2 separate regions of the Homo sapiens genome follow, and region 1 is linked to region 2. The links are contacts of gene promoters, found by promoter capture Hi-C in blood cells and fetal thymus (Javierre and others, 2016). All regions are on one chromosome and are shown on one strand. The core of a region is centred on a gene start or on the middle of the fragment in contact, and the rest is flanking DNA. Distances in the headings are between cores, read along the strand shown. Region 1 overlaps EPHA2 (EPH receptor A2). Region 2 holds the start of FBXO42 (F-box protein 42).

Region 1 (3,321 bases), core at 1-2,500, 230 kb before region 2:
GTAGGGCAAGAGAGCTCTGGTTAGGTAGGCCTGGGAGAAGGAGCCACAGCCTAGAAGCTTGCCAAGGTGGCCCACCATCAACAAAGTTAGGAAAACGACAGAAGCCTCAACTCTGTACGATGCTTTAAAAAAATAAAAATAAATCAAATCTTCTGAATTATCTGTGAGGCAGGTGCTCTTTTTCATCCCCATTTTGCAGATTAGAGAACTGAGGTCAGAGAGGTAAAGTGACTTGCCTGAAGTCACACAGCTAGGAGGTGGAAGAGCTGGGAATCAAACCAGCTATGAACAAATGCCTTCCCTCCCCTCACCCCTAGTCTGTTCCCAGTGCCCCCAGCTCAGGCCTCCTTCCCAGGAACTCTCTAGGGATGTCGCTCAAAGCCTCTCTGCCCAAGGTCTCTTCCCACCTGCTGCCTCATTTCTCCCTCACTCCTTCCAAGTTCCCACTGCTGATCATGAAGGAAGGACTTGGGAAATACTTGAAGGGTTAAACTTTGCGAGTCTTCATGGGTGAGGCTTGCGGGTCACCAGATCCAGTGACTAGGAAGATGTCTTCCCTTGGGGAAACCTCAGTTTCCTCCCGTGTAAAATGGGAGCTACTGTCCATCTGGAGGGCGAGAGACCTCAAAACCAGCAGCCGAGGGGGAAGGCAGCATCAGTACCAGATGGACAGATGTGCCCAGGAGCCCACAGCCCTGCTTTCCCACCCCCACAGGGTACACGCTCTCCTGGGGCCCCCTTCCATGCCCCTCCGTCCCCTCATGAAATCACTTATGCTCCCAGGAACCTGTGAGGAGGGCATTTATTACTCACTTTGGGAGTTTTCTCCTCCACCGTCCTCACCCACTAGCCCAAACCCATGAAAACACCCAAGTTTTTATGGGCCGACTTTTGGCTGTAAAGGGAGCTAATTATATGATGCAAGATCCTAGTTGCAGTTCTGCAGACATGACTTTCCCACAGGCTCCGGGAGCCCCGGCACAGGCGCAGAGCAGGGAAGGGCAGACCCAGGTGAGTTGGGGGGACTCCAGGACCTCCCGCAGAGGCTGGTGCTCCCACAGCAGCAGGAAGGCCGAGACATTTGGGACATTTGGGAGAACTTCCTACGCTACCTGCACAGGACGTTTCTAACCTATACAGTTGGAGGTGCTGAAAAAGCAGCAGTTTCCCACACACTTGAAGGTCTCAAATTGTGGTCCCTGGAAAAGCGCTCAGACCACGGTGAAGGAGACAGGACCCCCGGCCTGACCCCAGATTCACTCGATTTGCAGTTCCGCAGGTGGGGCAAGGAGTCTGCATTTGGTTGAATCCCAGAAGAAACCTGACATCCGGTTTAAAAACCAGTGGGTTGTAAGCTCCAGGAGGACAAGTGCTGAGACCTTGTCATCTGGGCCCATCACCCCCACAGCACCTGCTCCCGCCCCCACCCCTGCCCAGGGTCCAGGATAGGCCTGGCACATAGTAGGTCCCTAGGAAGTGTCTGCTGCATGAATGCATGAGCGAATGAATGCTTTAGCGGAGGTTGGGCCGTTGCTGGGCCACCTCTGGTCCCTCTTGCAAATGGTAGTGGTTAATCTCACAGGATGGGAGCACAGTTTGCTTTGGAGGCCCTGCGTAGAAAACTCCAAGGCCATATACTCGGTGAGCTCCTACTGTGTTCTGGCCCTGGGTGCAGGGAGACGGGAGTAAGAAATGGCTCCTGGAGCCTCACGTGTCAGATCATTCATTCATTCAGCAAGCATTCCTTCAGTGCCAAGCCTATGCCAAGGGCACTGGAGACCCTAAGATCTACAGCCTGTGCCCTCGACCCCCACACAGGATGCAAATGCTGTAGTCCCAGCTCTAGACAGAGCCTGGGGTTGGGCTATTTTTCTGGGGTGCAACATCCACGCCTTTCGTCAGCTGCTCACAAAACATCTGGGACCACTAGTCTAGCTAGAAACCCAACTGACTCCAAAATAGCACAAATGGAGAAGAGACAGTGGCTGTGGGACCCCAGGGGACCAGGCAGCTGGTCCCCTGGGAGGGAGTCAAGAAGGCAGGAGGCTGAGAAGGGGAGGAGGTGGGACACTGAAGCCTAAATCCTGATCCCATTGGGAAAGGCACGCATTCCCCTGCTACCAGCTCCAAGTCTCCCGTTGGGACCCATGGCGTGTGTAGACCCAGGCTTCAGGTTTTAAAAAGTCCTTTGAGATCCCCATTTATTTGGAAAGAGGCAGAGGGGAAGGAGGAGGCATGCAGGCCCCAGCTCTGAGCACCAGTGGCTGGTGGGAGGAGCGGGTGGTGGGTGGTGGGGGGCGCCGAATGACTTCCTGCCTTTATCCAGGCCCTTTCACAACAACGCGCACTGCAGCGCACACACACACAGCCTCCATCCATCCAAGACTGCCCCGTCCCTGCTCGTGGGAAAGGAATTGGCGAGGAGCACCCTGGGCTATTTAGGGAAGCTTCTAAGAACATGTGTTTCCCATAAGCACTTCTCCGTGCCCTCAGCTCTGGTCCCCAGAAGAGAGGCTGTGTTGTCCTTGGTGGGAGCCCCTGGAGGAGCAAAGGGTCTGGTGGATGTTCCCAGGAAAAAGGAGAAAAGGAGGGGGCATTTGCACAGTGCTAGGGGAGGAAAGCAAGGGAGTGGAGGAAAAGAGGAGAGCAATGAGGATTTAGCACCCACTGTATACCAGTCGTGTCATCTGCGCTGCACCCATGCAATCCCATCAAACTTGATCAAGGTCACCCGCTAGGAAGTGGCAGATGCGGGACTTGAACCCAGGTATGTGTGCAGAGCCCAAGCCTGTGGCCCTGCTGGGCTGGCGGGCAGCAAAAGACATCCTGTGATCCATCTCCCCTCCCTACGTGTCCCCGCCTCCCCTCTGGTCGGCTCTGTTCCTGCCTGCTTCCCATCACCGACTGTCCCCTGAGGGAGGCTATGGCCTTGGCCAGCAGGTTGGGAGCCCAGCTGAGCAATTTCCAAAGGCCCTAGAGAATGTTCATGAACAGGCTCAAATCCCAGAACTTCTGTGACCTAGAACCATGGGAGGCCCAGGTCATCCCCTCCATACGGTTCCCAAAACCTCCCAGCCTCCCGGTCTGTTCCCGCCATGATCTTTGACCATGCACAAGCTGGGTTGTTGAAACTGGCCACTATTTTTAGAGGCACAAAAGGCTAAGAGGATAGGGTCTCCCCCTTCCTGGGACAGGAGGAGGTGTCTGTGCCAAGGCCATGCCGGGAAAAGTCTCAATGCTGGAGTTGGGAAGGGGAGAAGAGCTGCCAAGGGGCAGCTTGACAAAGGGGCAAACCCAGGGCCAGCAGAGAGTAAGTGGCAC
Region 2 (3,538 bases), core at 528-3,027:
TGCTACTGCACTCCAGCCTGGATGACAGAGTGAGAAACTGCAAAAAAAAAAAAAAAAAGAAAGAAAGAAAGAAAGAAAGAAAGAAAGAAAGAAAATGGTCAAATAATAACCTAAACAGTTGTCATTTTAACAATGAAAAGCTTTTTAAGATACGCAACATGCCTATGGATCAATGTAGATTGAATCATCTATTTATACTGGCTTGTCAAAAGCAAACAGTTACTGGGTATAAAATGACAACATACAATAGAAAAGACACCCAATCAGATTACACACGTGAATACACTCAAAGTTAGCAATTTAACACAGCATCACTAATGGCCATAAGATATACAGACTTAATTCTAAATATTCAATTCTAAATGATGGTACTTCCCCCAAATTTTCCTTGCCTCTTTAAATCCATGATGTCATCATTCTTAAGCAGAAGTAAAGCCAATTTGTTACAAAAGATATTTTGGTGTGTCCAAGCAAAAGCAATCGCCTCAACAATTCTGCATAGCACAAGTTCAGTGAAGCCATCATTCCTCAAGAAAGAGACCACAAGGCTTCAAACCGACTTCCCTACATGACAGAAACACAATCGAAGTCTCCCAATTAGCATTTAAACAGCAATAAAAGTTGTTCTCAAAAAGGAACAACATAGTTTCAACGTCGGGGCCAGCAACTGCCAGCAAGTAAAACTGGTAATGTGTCAGAATCTTCATCTAGATCGATCAGAATCCCACCACAGAAAAATCCAGACTCTGGCAATTAAGAAATGAGGCTTTTATTTTCCTAACAGAAATCGGGAGATTTAACAGACAAAGCAATTGGTTATTCTGAATCTTAACAAACCGAAGGTTTCAAACGAACTCAGCGCTGAAGTTACTCTGCAGCGACCATCAAGATCTCACAATCGTTTTCTCTTCGCTTACAAATTCGTTCCCACCCTCCACCGTTCCCTTTGCACACACAATTCTCGCCAAGAGAAGCCTTCCACAGTCACAGCATGGATTGCTGTCTCAAGCAAGGAGATCCGCAGTTCCCATTTCTCTAAGGGAACACTCAACAAGCTAGGGGATAGGAAAGGCCTTTTGTGTTTTATTTAACGTAAACCAATTCCAAAATTATCCCTTTGCAGCTGCAGGTTCAGAGATGCTAGCCCCCAGCCGCAGCCCCAATTTTGATGGGCACCCGACCCCCGACTCCTCTCTCGCAAAGGAGTGAAATGTTCGGAGGAGCGATGAAAGATTACCTGACACCCTAAAGCCATCCTTGCCCGGGCCACACACCCCTTCACTGCCCGGGTGAGGGGACGAGAACCACCCTGCTGAGGAGAGGGGGTGGGTTCGCTCCCAACCCAAGGGCTGGCTGGAAAGGAGCTGTCCTCCTCCTCGCCTCACTCGAGGACGGCGATAGCAAGTCACCCTGCCCAACCAGGACCGACCCCCGCGTGGGATACGGGGCCTGCGTCAGACCCCGGGCGCCCGCTGCCCCTTGCCAGTCCCGGGCATAAAGGGCAGAAGGCGCCGGCTCCCCTCTGCGGCCCGGGGAGGAGGAGAGGCCTCACCTGGCCCAGCCCGCTCCACGCTCTCGGGTTCGCTCCGCTGGCGACGGTAATGAGGGAGCCAGGGACAGGGCCAGAGCAGAGGCGCTCTGCCTCAGGCCGCGACAGCCGTGCTCGGGGCTCCTCACAGCTGGCGGGACCCCGAGCCGCCCGGAGCCGCCATCTTCCTCCACTCAAACGCCGCCGCCGCCGCAGCTGCTGCTGCTCAGGCCGGGAGAAGACAGCGCAGAGCGCGCATGCGCCGGGGCGGGCGCGGCGGACGCGCGCGCACTCACGTCAGCGCGGCGGGATGGCGAGGGGCGGCCAGGGGGCGGCGCAGTGTTGAGAAAGGCCGTGGTCACAGGCCGAGGTTCTGTGGAGGGTGGAATGCGCTCGGGGGAGCTAGGCCTCCGCACCCGCCTTCGCCGCGTCTCTAGCGTCGACCTGATAGCCGCACCCACCCTCCGCTGCACTGTCTGGGGCAACTGGGTGGTTTTCCCGGTGGTTTGAGACTAACATTTAGCCAGGAATTAACTCACTTCTACCCCGAGGGCCCGATGAGCAGAGAGGGCTGTGGCGGATGTGAGTGCTCTTGGATATCGCCAAGGGGAGGGAAACTGTGCTTGAGGTGTGCAGGAGAAGTCTTCCCTTAACCGTAGCCTCGTAGCAACCACTGTGAGTTCTTACTAGCTCCACTTTTCAGATGAGGAAACTGAGGCACAGAAAACGATCACTTATTTGCCCGGAGTCACACACCTATCAGTGGAGGTGGGGCGGCGCGGGAAAGAGGATTTAAACTCAGGCTTGTCTGGTTCCCAAGCTCCTTTACTTCCTACTAGCTAGGTTATAGGATCCAGCAAAGTCCCCCTTCTCAAGGGAGCAACCTGGTGTGTAGGTGAGAACCTTCATGAGCCCAGCCCTACAGCATGTGGTCTAAGGAAATGCCAGATACAGAGTCAAAGGCTTCAGTCTAAACTCTGTAAGCCAAAAAAACAAAACAAAACAAAACAAAAAACTAAGCCCCCACCCCCCCCCCAACACCAAACCATCTGAACGGACTTCCTCCTAGGCCAGGGCAGTCTAAAATGTAACCAACCTGAGAGACTGGTTCAGGCCATGACGGGAAGCAGGACATGAGACATGCCTCATTACATCCTTCAGCATTGACATCAACACAACAGACCTTAAGACTGGTAAGAAACATTTACAATCTGTTCTCTCTGGAGCCCACCTGCCACTTGGAGGCTTCACGTGCGTGATAAAACTTTGGTGTCCACAATCCCTTATCATAACCCAGACATTCATTTCTATTGATAATAACTTTTTTTTTTTTGAGACAGGGTCTAACTCTGTTGCCCAGGCTGGAGTCCAGTGATGAGTTCTTGGTTCGCTGCAACCTCTGTCTTTCAGGCTCAAGCTATCCTCCTACCTTAGCCTCCTGAGTAACTGGGACTACAGGCGGGCACCACCATGCCTGGCTAATTTTTCCATTTTTTTTGTAGACACAGGGTTTCGCCATGTTGTCCACTCTCATCTCAAACTCCTGAGCTCAAGTAATCCACTTGCCTCGGCCTCCCAAAATGCTTGGATTACAGGCGTGTGCCACCGCACCAGGCCTATTGATAATAACTATTTCAACTCATTGCCAATCAGAAAATGTTTAAATCTGCCTATAATGTGGAAGCCCCCACTTCAAGTTTCCGGTCTTTCTGCACCGAACCAATGTAGTTTTTATTTATTTATTTACTTATTTTTATTTATTTGTTTATTTTTTTGAGACTGAGTCTTGCTCTGTCGCCCAGACTAGAGTGCAGTGGCACCATCTCCGCTCACTGCAACTTCCGCCTCCTGGGTTCAACCGATTCTCCTGCCTCAGCCTCCCGAGTAGCTGGGATTACAGGCGCCCGCCACCGTGCCCAGCTAATTTTTGTATTTTCAGTAGAAAATACAAAATTCAGTAGAAAATACGGGGTTTCACCATCTTGGACAGGCTGGTCTCAAACTCCTGAA

Evidence for each region. Contacts are between HindIII fragments. The CHiCAGO score rates a contact against its expected background, and 5 or more counts as called.
Region 1: a contact is called between a fragment that was not itself captured here and the fragment with the promoter of FBXO42 in region 2, in 1 of 17 cell types (endothelial precursors). The highest score is 6.0, in endothelial precursors.

The regions. Positions count from the first base shown.
Region 1 is chr1:16,125,466-16,128,786 of GRCh38, forward strand. The region is part of intron 16 of EPHA2 (EPH receptor A2); the gene reads right to left. Among named protein-coding and RNA genes, the nearest start is that of EPHA2-AS1, 28 kb to the right of the region's middle. The HindIII fragment of the contact is 2,390 bases long and covers 56-2,445 here.
Region 2 is chr1:16,350,703-16,354,240 of GRCh38, forward strand. FBXO42 (F-box protein 42) reads right to left here and starts at 1,778. Exons shown (of 10, transcript NM_018994.3): 1 at 1,553-1,778. RefSeq lists an enhancer at 1,043-1,817. The HindIII fragment of the contact is 4,914 bases long and covers 139-3,538 here.